3 separate regions of the Homo sapiens genome follow, and all the other regions are linked to region 1. Evidence: promoter capture Hi-C in 16 types of primary human blood cells and fetal thymus (Javierre and others, 2016). All regions are on one chromosome and are shown on one strand. The core of a region is centred on a gene start or on the middle of the fragment in contact, and the rest is flanking DNA. Distances in the headings are between cores, read along the strand shown. Region 1 holds the start of TEX13B (testis expressed 13B). Region 2 overlaps TBC1D8B (TBC1 domain family member 8B). Region 3 overlaps MORC4 (MORC family CW-type zinc finger 4).

The links. Contacts are between HindIII fragments. The CHiCAGO score rates a contact against its expected background, and 5 or more counts as called.
Region 2: a contact is called between a fragment that was not itself captured here and the fragment with the promoter of TEX13B in region 1, in 3 of 17 cell types (total B cells, non-activated CD4 T cells and activated CD4 T cells). The highest score is 8.4, in total B cells.
Region 3: a contact is called between a fragment that was not itself captured here and the fragment with the promoter of TEX13B in region 1, in 2 of 17 cell types (total CD4 T cells and naive CD8 T cells). The highest score is 6.3, in total CD4 T cells.

The regions. Positions count from the first base shown.
Region 1 is chrX:107,980,479-107,983,939 of GRCh38, forward strand. It overlaps TEX13B (testis expressed 13B), which reads right to left and starts at 1,892. Exons shown (of 3, transcript NM_031273.2): 1 at 1,832-1,892; 2 at 1,191-1,681; 3 at 386-1,081. The coding sequence starts at 1,649. The coding sequence ends at 602. It also overlaps the pseudogene LOC112267910 and the pseudogene NLRP3P1. The HindIII fragment of the contact is 6,409 bases long and covers 1-3,461 here.
Region 2 is chrX:106,864,100-106,867,560 of GRCh38, forward strand. It overlaps TBC1D8B (TBC1 domain family member 8B), which reads left to right. Exons shown (of 21, transcript NM_017752.3): 15 at 1,460-1,528; 16 at 1,694-1,934; 17 at 2,698-2,763. Among named protein-coding and RNA genes, the nearest start is that of RIPPLY1, 38 kb to the right of the region's middle. The HindIII fragment of the contact is 1,720 bases long and covers 1,008-2,727 here.
Region 3 is chrX:106,975,553-106,979,013 of GRCh38, forward strand. MORC4 (MORC family CW-type zinc finger 4) reads right to left here. Exons shown (of 17, transcript NM_024657.5): 8 at 2,528-2,647; 9 at 1,032-1,132. Among named protein-coding and RNA genes, the nearest start is that of MORC4, 23 kb to the right of the region's middle. The HindIII fragment of the contact is 1,499 bases long and covers 757-2,255 here.

The DNA of each region.
Region 1 (3,461 bases), core at 642-3,141:
GCTCAGGATTGGTCAAATATCCACTCCTGCTCCAATTATCTAAAGCCTACATGAAGGGAGAGAGTGTAGGTGTTACATACTGCCCAGGTCCGACAGATACTTAAGATAGGGAGCTAGAGACACACACACAAATAAAAACTGCAGTAGTTCTGGAGTGTTGACTACTAATACTCTGAAATACAAATGGAGTCATTAAAACATGTCTCTCCCTGCCTGTCATCTACATCCTCCCACCCACAACCCCGCCTCCCCGCCCCCCTACTGTCCAATCTTCCCACTCATCCCCTTTCCCCCACTCCACCCAATCCCCCTCCCACCTCTCCCCTCTCCCCCTGAAGATTGATTTCCCATTGAGATATATTTCTGTTCTATTTTACATTTCTGAATTTACTGAGGCTTTTGCAGCCAGATTCGCCTCCCACAGAGGAAGCAATTTTCCCTCCATGAAAAATTCACAGCTTTACACCACGGGCAGTCCCAGTTCCCTGGCCTGCGATATACTGGAGGTCTTCTCTGCTGATGGAGTTCGGAGTCTCTCCTGTCTCTTGGGGGCTCTTGAGGGTCTATTCCCTGGGCCTCCACATCTGACCACAGGCTAGCATCAGAGGCCCCCCAGTTGAAAGGCATCTGAGTTGGAACCCGTTCTGTGACCTTTGCTGGTGAAGGGGGTATATTGGGTATGGCTGAGAAGGCGGACAAAGGGCATGGGTATGAGTATGTGAATGAGGTAGGGAGCTGGACAGGAAGAGGCTCCAGTGAGACTGTGGACCCAAGCCCAGAGAAGACAGACATGGCTGTTTGTACTGACCTGAGATCTTTCTCCCTCTGCCCCGCAAAGGTGTAATTTGCCTGCTACAATAGCTCCGAGGGGCTGCCTGAAGCCTCCTCCCAGCCCCTGCAAGACCTCTGCGGGGGCAGGCCCTGCCTCTGCATACCTCTCCTCTCCTTTTCCTCCAGCAGCACCAGCAGCAGCCACCGCCTCCTTTTCCTGCTCACCTGCTCCTTCTGTCCAATCCCCTCCGGCAGTGGCCAGGCCTGGAAACACTGTAGCCTGGCCCTGTCCCTGGGGAGGTGCCAGCTCCTGGAGAGAAGTAGGCAGAGCTGAAACACATTCTGGGGACAGGGCAGGGGGTCCGGACAGGTTGGGGCAGGGCAGAGGCATTGGACAGGGACCATTCGGGGGATCTTACGGCATGGAAGAGCTTCCATCTCAGCATGTCCCGCTCTCTCTGCACCTCCGCAAGGCTGGTCTCGGTTAGCTGCAACTGGAAGGTCGCCTCATTGCATTCCATCTCCTGCTGTTCCTTGAGTTCCGTCAGGTTTGAGGCCAAGACCAGCGCAGCTGATCTGTGCAGTTTGGCAAAGCCTTGCAGCCACTGCACCCTGCGGTTTTGTAACTGCCCCTGCCTGTGGGCAAAGCGCACACCCAAGGCCAGGCTGCCCCAGGTGCAGGCCTCTTTGACCTCGCTGGGCACCTCGCTGTCCTCCAGGATGGCCCTGAGCTTGTCTTCCACCTCCTCCCAGGATAAGGATATATTCTCGAAGTAGAACTCGGGGCCTTTCGTGTGCCTGGCCATTTTCTCGATGATGAAGGCCACCACGTTTCCGTGCCGGAACCCACTACTGGGGTCCTCAGGTCTCAAGGCCATGATCGCCTAGGGGCTTAACGGTTTCACTAGCCCTGTGTGGATGGAGCAGCCAATAGGTTTCTTTCCTCCTCCTTAGCCCCTCCCCTCATCTGTCTTCTCCGCCCTCCCACCTCTGACAAGACCCTCCTAATGACCCTCTGACCGGCTTGTCCTACCCTAGGACATCTCCCACCAGGCCTCACCTCTTCAGCCAGGGCCAGAGGAAGTACAGGCCAACCCCGCTGCTTAACACGCCTGAAGAGAGGGTGGCCTCTTTCCCTCCTAGGGCTCTGCGGGAAAAGAAGCCTCAGGGCCAACCCATGAGGATTTTACTCTGGGACTGTTCCAATTTCCAGAGACTGTAGGGGTGAAAGGGAGTGAGTGAGGAAGGCCTCTGCCATTCCACTGGGACAAAAGGGAACCTGCCACATGGTCGGGAGACCTTGAAGGCTGAAAGAAACAGGAGTGGTCCGGAAGGACTTAGGACCAAAAAAAGTATTTGTGAACAAGTTGAAGACTTATCCCTCCCCATCATAATGGTTTGTGCCATGCCAGGGGAGTTTCGCCCCCAACTGGAATATTCTAGAGCAGGAAACAGCCCCAACCCCTCAGTTGCCCTTGGAGGAAGAGGGTGGAGCCAGGAGCGGAGCTTATCCCCTGTTTGCTCAGGACTAAACATCCCAGACACCCTAACAAATCCTGGCCTGCCTTTCCTCCCTTAGCTCCTCTTTCCCCACACTCCTCCCATCACCCCTTCTCCCACTCCTCCCCTACTGAAACGCCTTGAATCTTGAAGCAACTGTGGGAGAAAGAGAGTTAGGAGTAGCATAAATACACCTTTTTACCAAAACATGAAATATCAGAGATCTTCCATCAGAGGGATATGAATATGTCTCTTAAAACCTTCGGCCGGGCGCGGTGGCTCATGCCTGTAATCCCAGTACTTTGGGAGACCGAGATGGGCGGATCACGAGGTCAGAAGATCGAGACCATCCTGGCTAACAGGGTGAAACCCCGTCTCTACTAAAATTACAAAAAATTAGCCAGATGTGGTGGCACGCGCATGTAGTCCCAGCTACTCGGGAGGCTGAGGCAGGAGAATCGCTTGAACCCACGAGGCGGAGGTTGCAGTGAGCCGAGATCGCACCACTGCACTGTAGCCTGGGTGACAGAGTGAGACTCTGTCTCAAACAAACAAACACAAAAACAAGAAAACCTTGAATGACTTTCTGAGACCCACAAGATAAATCAGACAAATCTCAGGTTGAGTCCAGCGTTGCTACGTATTACATGACATTGTACTGTAACTGAATCTGTTTCTACCTATGGATCTATGATGATGGCCAATGACAAAAGGGCATGTAAAGTTGTAGGAGTAATGTTTTCTATGATCCCGTATTTGTGTGTATGTGTGTGTTTGCATATGTTTGTATGTTTCTATAATCTTGGAGAACAGAATGAGAGAGGATATATAGCAGACTCAACATTAATTATCTCTGGGAAGTGGGGTTGGACTGGAGGTTAGAAAAAAAGTTTTTAACTTTAAAATACATTTTTCTCTAATTTCGCTTGTTACAAAGAGCATATAACTAACTATATGTATGCATACATCACAAATCTGGAAAGTTATATACTAACACTTTAACAGTGGTTATCTTTGGGTAATAGGAATACAGTACTTTAAAAAATATTCTTGACATTTTTCTCTATTGTAAAATTGTTTATAATAAACGTGTTATGTTTTTCAAAATTGAAAAAAAATGTTTCTCCCAGTAACAGCTGATCATTGTAAATAATTTTTAAGTGCTTGGAAAGTACTTCTATAATCCTACC
Region 2 (3,461 bases), core at 618-3,117, 1.1 Mb before region 1:
AGGCTTGTAGAGGTCCCCTTGGACTTAAGAGTTGCCTCTGCAAACCGTCTGGGTGGCTCTCTGCCTCAGTTTAGAGGTGAGGTGGGAGGATGAGAGTGGCAAGTAGGGGGTTAGGGCAGGGGAATTCTCCCACTCCCAGCCTTACACAGATCCCCATGGAGAGTGTGAATTACCCTCTCCCGTATTGGGGAGCTTCTCCTGACTCCGCATTGATGCCAGATAGGCTGCTGCCCAGCTTCCCTCCTCTCTGCTCTCTGTGTCCCCTTGCTGCTTTGATGGTTCCCAGTGTGGTTTCTTAGATGATTGGCTTTTAGGGTCAGTGTTCACTAAACCCTTTGTTTCCCCTCCATAAGAGAGCAGCACCCATGATCTGCTTCTAGTTTGTCATATTGGCCCCTCCCATGCTGGGCACCTTTTTTTTTTTTTTTTTTTTTTTTTTGAGACAGTCTCACTCTGTCGCCCAGGCTGGAATACAGTGGCATGATCTCGGCTCACTGCAACCTCTGCCTCCCGGGTTCAAGTGATTCTTGTGCCTCAGTCTCCTGAGTAGCTGCGATTATAGGCATACGCCACCACACCTGGCTAATTTTTGTATTTTTAGTAGAGACAGGGTTTCACCAAGTTGGCCAGGCTGGTCTTGAACTCCTGGCCTCAAGTGATCTGCCTGCCTTGGCCTCCCAAGTGCTGGGATTACAGGCATGAGCCACCATTCCTCTGCTGGGCACTTTAAATGACTTCTGTATCCATGCTTAAATTATCCACTTCTCGATGATAGTCATTTGTGATTTCTTTCATCTCACTTGCCAGAAATGTGTCTATCTTATTGATTTTTTCAATAAACCAACTCTTAATTTTATTTACTGAGTCTACCGGGTTTTTTTAATTTTCTGTATTTCATCAATTCTAGCTTTTTTCTTTACCTTTGCTTTCAAATTTCTTAGATATCATAATGATTGTATCATTAGTCCTTCTTCTTCATGGAATAGGATAAAAGTACATATTTTCTAAGCTTATTACTTCTTGGATTATGTTTTTTGGCATAGAGAGGGAATGTACATCTCCCAATGCCTTTGAAGTATTTAATAGCAACCTCACATGATGACTAGATATGCTGCTTATGTGGCAAGAGAGGAATATATGGAATAGGACTTAGAATACTGTTACTTATATTTATAGACATTAAGTGGCTGTTCTTTGGCAGTGATTTCTGAGTATGAAGAGATGAATATCAAAGTACATATTAGAGTAGAATTGAACTAGTCTACTACTACTTTTTAAAAGGAAAAATAGATAATAACTTTATAATATAATAACTTATAATAACTTTTTATTATTCATTTAAGAAGTTAAAACACAAATATTTTCTTCTAGCAGAGAGAGACTCTAAGGTAATTCAAAGAGAATTTCTTTACTGCAATGTTAAAATCTGTGTACTAAATTGCTTTTAATCTTTTTAAAGTTGCGTGTTGTATCACAAGATGTGAAATTGAGCCTTCAAGAATTGGATGAACTTTATGTCATCTTTAAGGTACTGTTGTTCTTCTTTAAATGAAAAATAATGCTTTTTTTTAGCAGAATTGTATCACAGCCATTCTAATTATTTTTATCTTTATTTTAGCAGACATGGTTTTTAAAATCTTCCAAAATTACTTTTTCTAATTAGTAACTTTCCTTTTTTATTTATTTTTAATAGAAAGAGCTGTTTTTATCTTGTTATTGGTGTTTGGGTTGCCCAGTATTGAAGCATCATGACCCCAGTCTGCCATATTTGGAACAGTATCAGATTGACTGCCAGCAGTTCAGAGCGTTGTATCACTTGTTGAGTCCCTGGGCTCATTCTGCAAATAAAGACTCACTAGCTTTATGGACATTCAGATTGTTAGATGAAAACTCTGATTGCCTTATAAACTTCAAAGAATTCTCCTCTGCAATTGGTAAGATGATTTTTTTAAGCAAAAAAAAAAGGTGCTCCTAGAAATACTTAGTACTGCCTATTATTGCCAATTTAGTCAGATTATATCACCATGGGTTACAGTGTGTTTAGCTTTAGTAATAAATGGACCCTTTTCTGCATTTGTTGCTAAATCTAAGTATTTTGATATTATTTTCCCCAACCCTTTCAGAAAAGCAAGCTGTTAGATGTGAGTGTTTTAAGGGTTAACATAAGGAAGATAACGTCCCAATTTTCCCACACTCAGATGCATGGGTACTACCGAAGGACTTCCCCCACCCCACCGACCTCCCCGTAAAAATTCAACCACATAGCCTAGAAGAGTGGTAGATAAATACCCAGCAAACATGTTGTACCTACAGATAGTCAAGATGTTGTACCTGTAGATATTGTTCATTTGCTTTTCCAGATACCCCAGCATGCTTTCTTATCAGGGATCACCCCTTGAAGAACAGTTCTCTCCTGCACAGGCCTCATTCAAAAGAAAAGAGAAATCTGAGATTGGGGGGAAGGAGCTAGGAAAGAGAACATTTTACTTTTTTGATAAAGAGTATTTTGCTTATACAGTTATACACTTGAAGGAGAGCATCTGATTGACTAGGTGGTTGTTTAATTGTTAGCTTAAGTAACAGGTTTCTAAATCCTAATTTTTGACTAATGTCTATATCTTAATTAATCTTTGTTGCTGAAATTGATTGAATGTTCTTTAGATACATGATTATTTACAATTGAATTTTATTGAACAGACATAATGTACAATGGAAGTTTTACTGAGAAGCTTAAGCTGCTTTTTAAGCTACATATTCCTCCAGGTAAGAGTTTACCAGTCTTTAACGATGTACAGCAGGAATTTATTCCATTTTAGCAAGTATAATTACAGATTTTTTTAACAACTAAACTAATTTTCAACATGATATAAGATCGTTGCTTCACTGTGGCCCTCAAATTATATTATGACTACTTTTTGCTGATATAGATACAGTGATCTTCTATGGAAGAGATTCTGTGTAACATATGGGCCCACAAGTTTCCTTCCTGTTAGTAGTCAATTTAATGATAAGTAGTTTGTATATAAGAATCACATATCATTTGATTGTTGGTATAATGTTGAATTGTTGTTGTTGTCATTAGAGTGGAAATTAACTTTAGACAAACTGCCAAACCTGCGAAATACTACAAATTATTCAGAAAAATGGGACAAGGAAGCAGGGATATTAAATATTTTAAAAAGGAAGCACAATAAACGCTATCATTTATTAAGCACCTGCTCTGTCAAGACATTAACTTTACATGCATTTTTAAAATTTAATTCTCATAATATCCATGATAGGTGGCATTATCCTTCCAATTTTGATGATAAGGAAACTGAGAGCTGGAAAGATAAAAATTTGCCAAAGATCACATCGCTAATAAATTGCATAGCAAACTGAAGTCTGACTCCAAAGCTCACATTTCTTTATATTCTTCCGTACTACCTCAAAATTACCACACCATTCAGTTTACTTGTTTT
Region 3 (3,461 bases), core at 256-2,755, 1.0 Mb before region 1:
ACAGTTTGGGCACAAAACAAAAGAGATTTGGGAAATTTCTTTTCTCCCACTCTAAGAAAAATATTTGCTACTGAGACTTCAAGGAAAATGACCGCAAATGTCCTCATGCCTTCTTTCTCCATACTCCCAGAATACCTCTTACCCTTTTTTGCCCTTACAGATACTTCCCTCTGCTTAGAATGTCCTTCCTCTATTGTCCACCTAGAAAACTTTTCCTTCATATTTAATATCAAATATAATCTGCTTTGTGAAGCCTTCCCTGACTCCCTTAAGCATATTTAAAGTTCTCCCCACTTTGCACATACCCCCTATTAAAGCAATTATTTTATAAGTATTTAAGTTTCTTATTTGCATACATATTTGTTCATAGGTATCAAAGAGTCTTATTTTTCATCCTTAGTACCTGGCACATAGAAGCTGTCTCATAATACTTAATGAAATAAAGACCCATCTCCCTCTCGACATTTTTTAAACAAACTATTCTAACCTGGCTTTAAAAACTCCTTTCGAAAAATATCCCTACTGGTTCAGCCATAATGTCGAGTTCCTTTCAGATTCTTACCTGTTTGCCTGCCCTATTAAATCTAGATGCTTTAATGAAAGCACATGTCTTTCCTGCTGTTCCATCACTTTGCTCTAAATCTGTTCACTGGCTTCAAGAAAAATTTTTGGAACAAATTTCAAACTGCTTTTTTTTATCCAATGTATTCCATAACTTCAGATCCATTCATCTGTTTCCATTAAGATCAATTCCAAAGCTTTTCATTTCCCCAGAAATCTTTTACCAAATTACTCCTATGCTCTTTGCATAATTTCTAAAGGTAAGGTTTATCTCAACGAGACTCCATATATCATTCAGCAAACTTTAATTTAAAAATGAAAGCATTTTATCTCTAATCTTGGAAAACAAATTTGAAGTAATTCTCAGTTAACTTATTTAGCTGCTTTTTAGAGATGGTTTTAGAGGCTTTAGAGAACAGAATCATATCTGAACAAACTAACGGAAGCACCTCAGGTTGGGAGTGACTCACCGGTACTCCTTGGTATACTCAAAGTCTTGTTTGTTGTAGGCAGGTTTTAGGAAATTGCACTCAATGACTCCAATTACTCCTACACCTTCTCCACGAGTTGGCTTAGAAGAAAATATTAATTTCAACACTTACATTACTGTTGGCTGCCTGGAGGCATTTCCTTTTGATTCCAAACAATAATAGAAAGGTTACATAACCTTCATGGGCAAGAAAAGACCATCAAGATCTAGAGAAACACTTAGAATGTACATCAACAGACTGCAAGCATTAAACTGAACTAGAAATTCTGACAAATTCTAGGGCAGAGATTTTCAAAATATGATCCATAGATCCCTAGGAGTCTTCTGCAATTAGTAGCCATCTCTACTTCACCCACACTACCTCCACTTTTATCTGCTTTATATTCCAGGACTGCCATAAGACTGCATTTGAATAAAGAATTACCGTGCTAAAAAACCAAGGTTATATACTACTGTTCTAAGGAACTGAAACAAATATTCATCTGAAAACAATTTTAAGGGTTCTGTGTGATCCTATATTAAAATAAACAATTTTCCCACATACATAGGCCACCAAACAACTACTAAAGAGTCACACTTACAGCAATTATTAATTACAAGTTGACGCAAGAGTTTTATAGATTTAAATCATATTCTAATTCTTTAATGGAAGAAACTAAGTAAAGGTGTAATTGGACTGGAACACAAACACGAGTTGTCTAAAGGTGCTATAACAAGGGAAAACAAAATAGGCTGAAAACGAGCTATCCTGGGCTTTATATAACTGTCTTACTATGTTGAAGCAGTTCATCATTTTTTGTGCTTTAGCAATCTTATCTGTAAAATAGGAATAAAAGGGATACTTGTAGACATTACTACTTTAAATAATCATTAAGACATTAAAGATGATGGTAAAATTTGTATAGAGTGGTTTAAAAAATATTTTCACATAATTTATCCCATTTAAATCTCTCAACCCTGTAAGCTGTGAGGCAGGCAAAGCAGGTATGCTTATTATTGTTGTTTCCACTTTACATAAAGGTCAGGAAATTGAGCTTCAGATAAATTAAACAATTTATCCAAGGTTACACAGCTTGTAAATGGAAAATTCAGGACCCAAATCCTGGTCTTCAACCACCATATTTTATATGCCTTCCACTATGCCTTATTGTCTCTCCAAGAAAATGGAGTTACCTAAAACACAAATAAGCTGACACACATGGTAAGCTTGCTGGTATTCTAATTCTGCCTCTTATTGACAGCTACTTAGAAAATGCATTCAGTAAAGTTGTTGGGTTGATTAACAGCTGAAGAATGAGAGTTAGAAAGAGATTTCAACACAAGACAGCTCACTGGTAACACAATTCCAGGATCAGAATTCAATAAGCATCATAAGATGGGAGTAAAAGCCATTAATGAGCCTATCCCCTTTGCAAATTTTAAATTCTCTTCCTACTCTTTTCAGCCTCCTATGACAAAGAAATATTAACTACTCACCTTCACCTGGCACCCCACCTTCTCAAAAGATTTTATGAGTCGGTTGTTATGATACATCATTATTCCAAACTGGTTACTATTCTTGCAAGAGAACCCAAAGGTGATTCTCACCTGCTTATTCTGAGAAGAACATCGTTAAGGAGACAAACATACCAGGGGCTTCAACGACAAAATTTTACACCATATTATAGCAAAAACCATCAAATACCAAGGGACATAAATTGGTACAACCTTTTTGCGGGCATTTAAACATCTGTTGCAATAGCTTTAAGAATATTCTTAATATTTGACCAAGTAATTCTCTTTTTAAGAATTTATCCCACAGAAACAGTCAGGGAGGCCCACAAACGTTAAGGAATTACAGAGGTTTTTCAATTTGTTATAAAAGCAGAGAAACAGAAATAATTTAAATGTTCAACAATAAAGAAATGATTAAATAAATGTTGATATAGCCATATGCATCTCTTTTAAAATTATGTCCTTGAAATATTTGAGAATATCAGGAAACGCTCAGATTATAAAAACATCACACACACACACGCACACACACACACACACACACATGCATAGAAAGACTGTAAGAAAAGATACCTAAATACCATCAGTGATTTAAAAATTGACAAATAATCATAAAACATTTCTTAGCCCTTGCTAGTTGCTCAGTTTGCTGCTAGGGCACATAGGTTCTGATAAGAGCTGTAAATGGTCCAATACAAATCTGTACAATTATATCCAATAAGGTAAATCCTTCTTACCATACCAAACACAATGAAAGCAAAAGCAAAGGTAAAGAACAATGAATAGTCCTGTAGTGATATATTTCATGGGAAGAAGTTAACAAGCTTGGATAAATGAAATGAAGACAACTGATTATTATAAGTAAAACATGAATAATGATGAGTTTTTAACAAGTCCTACTTAATTTAAAAACCAA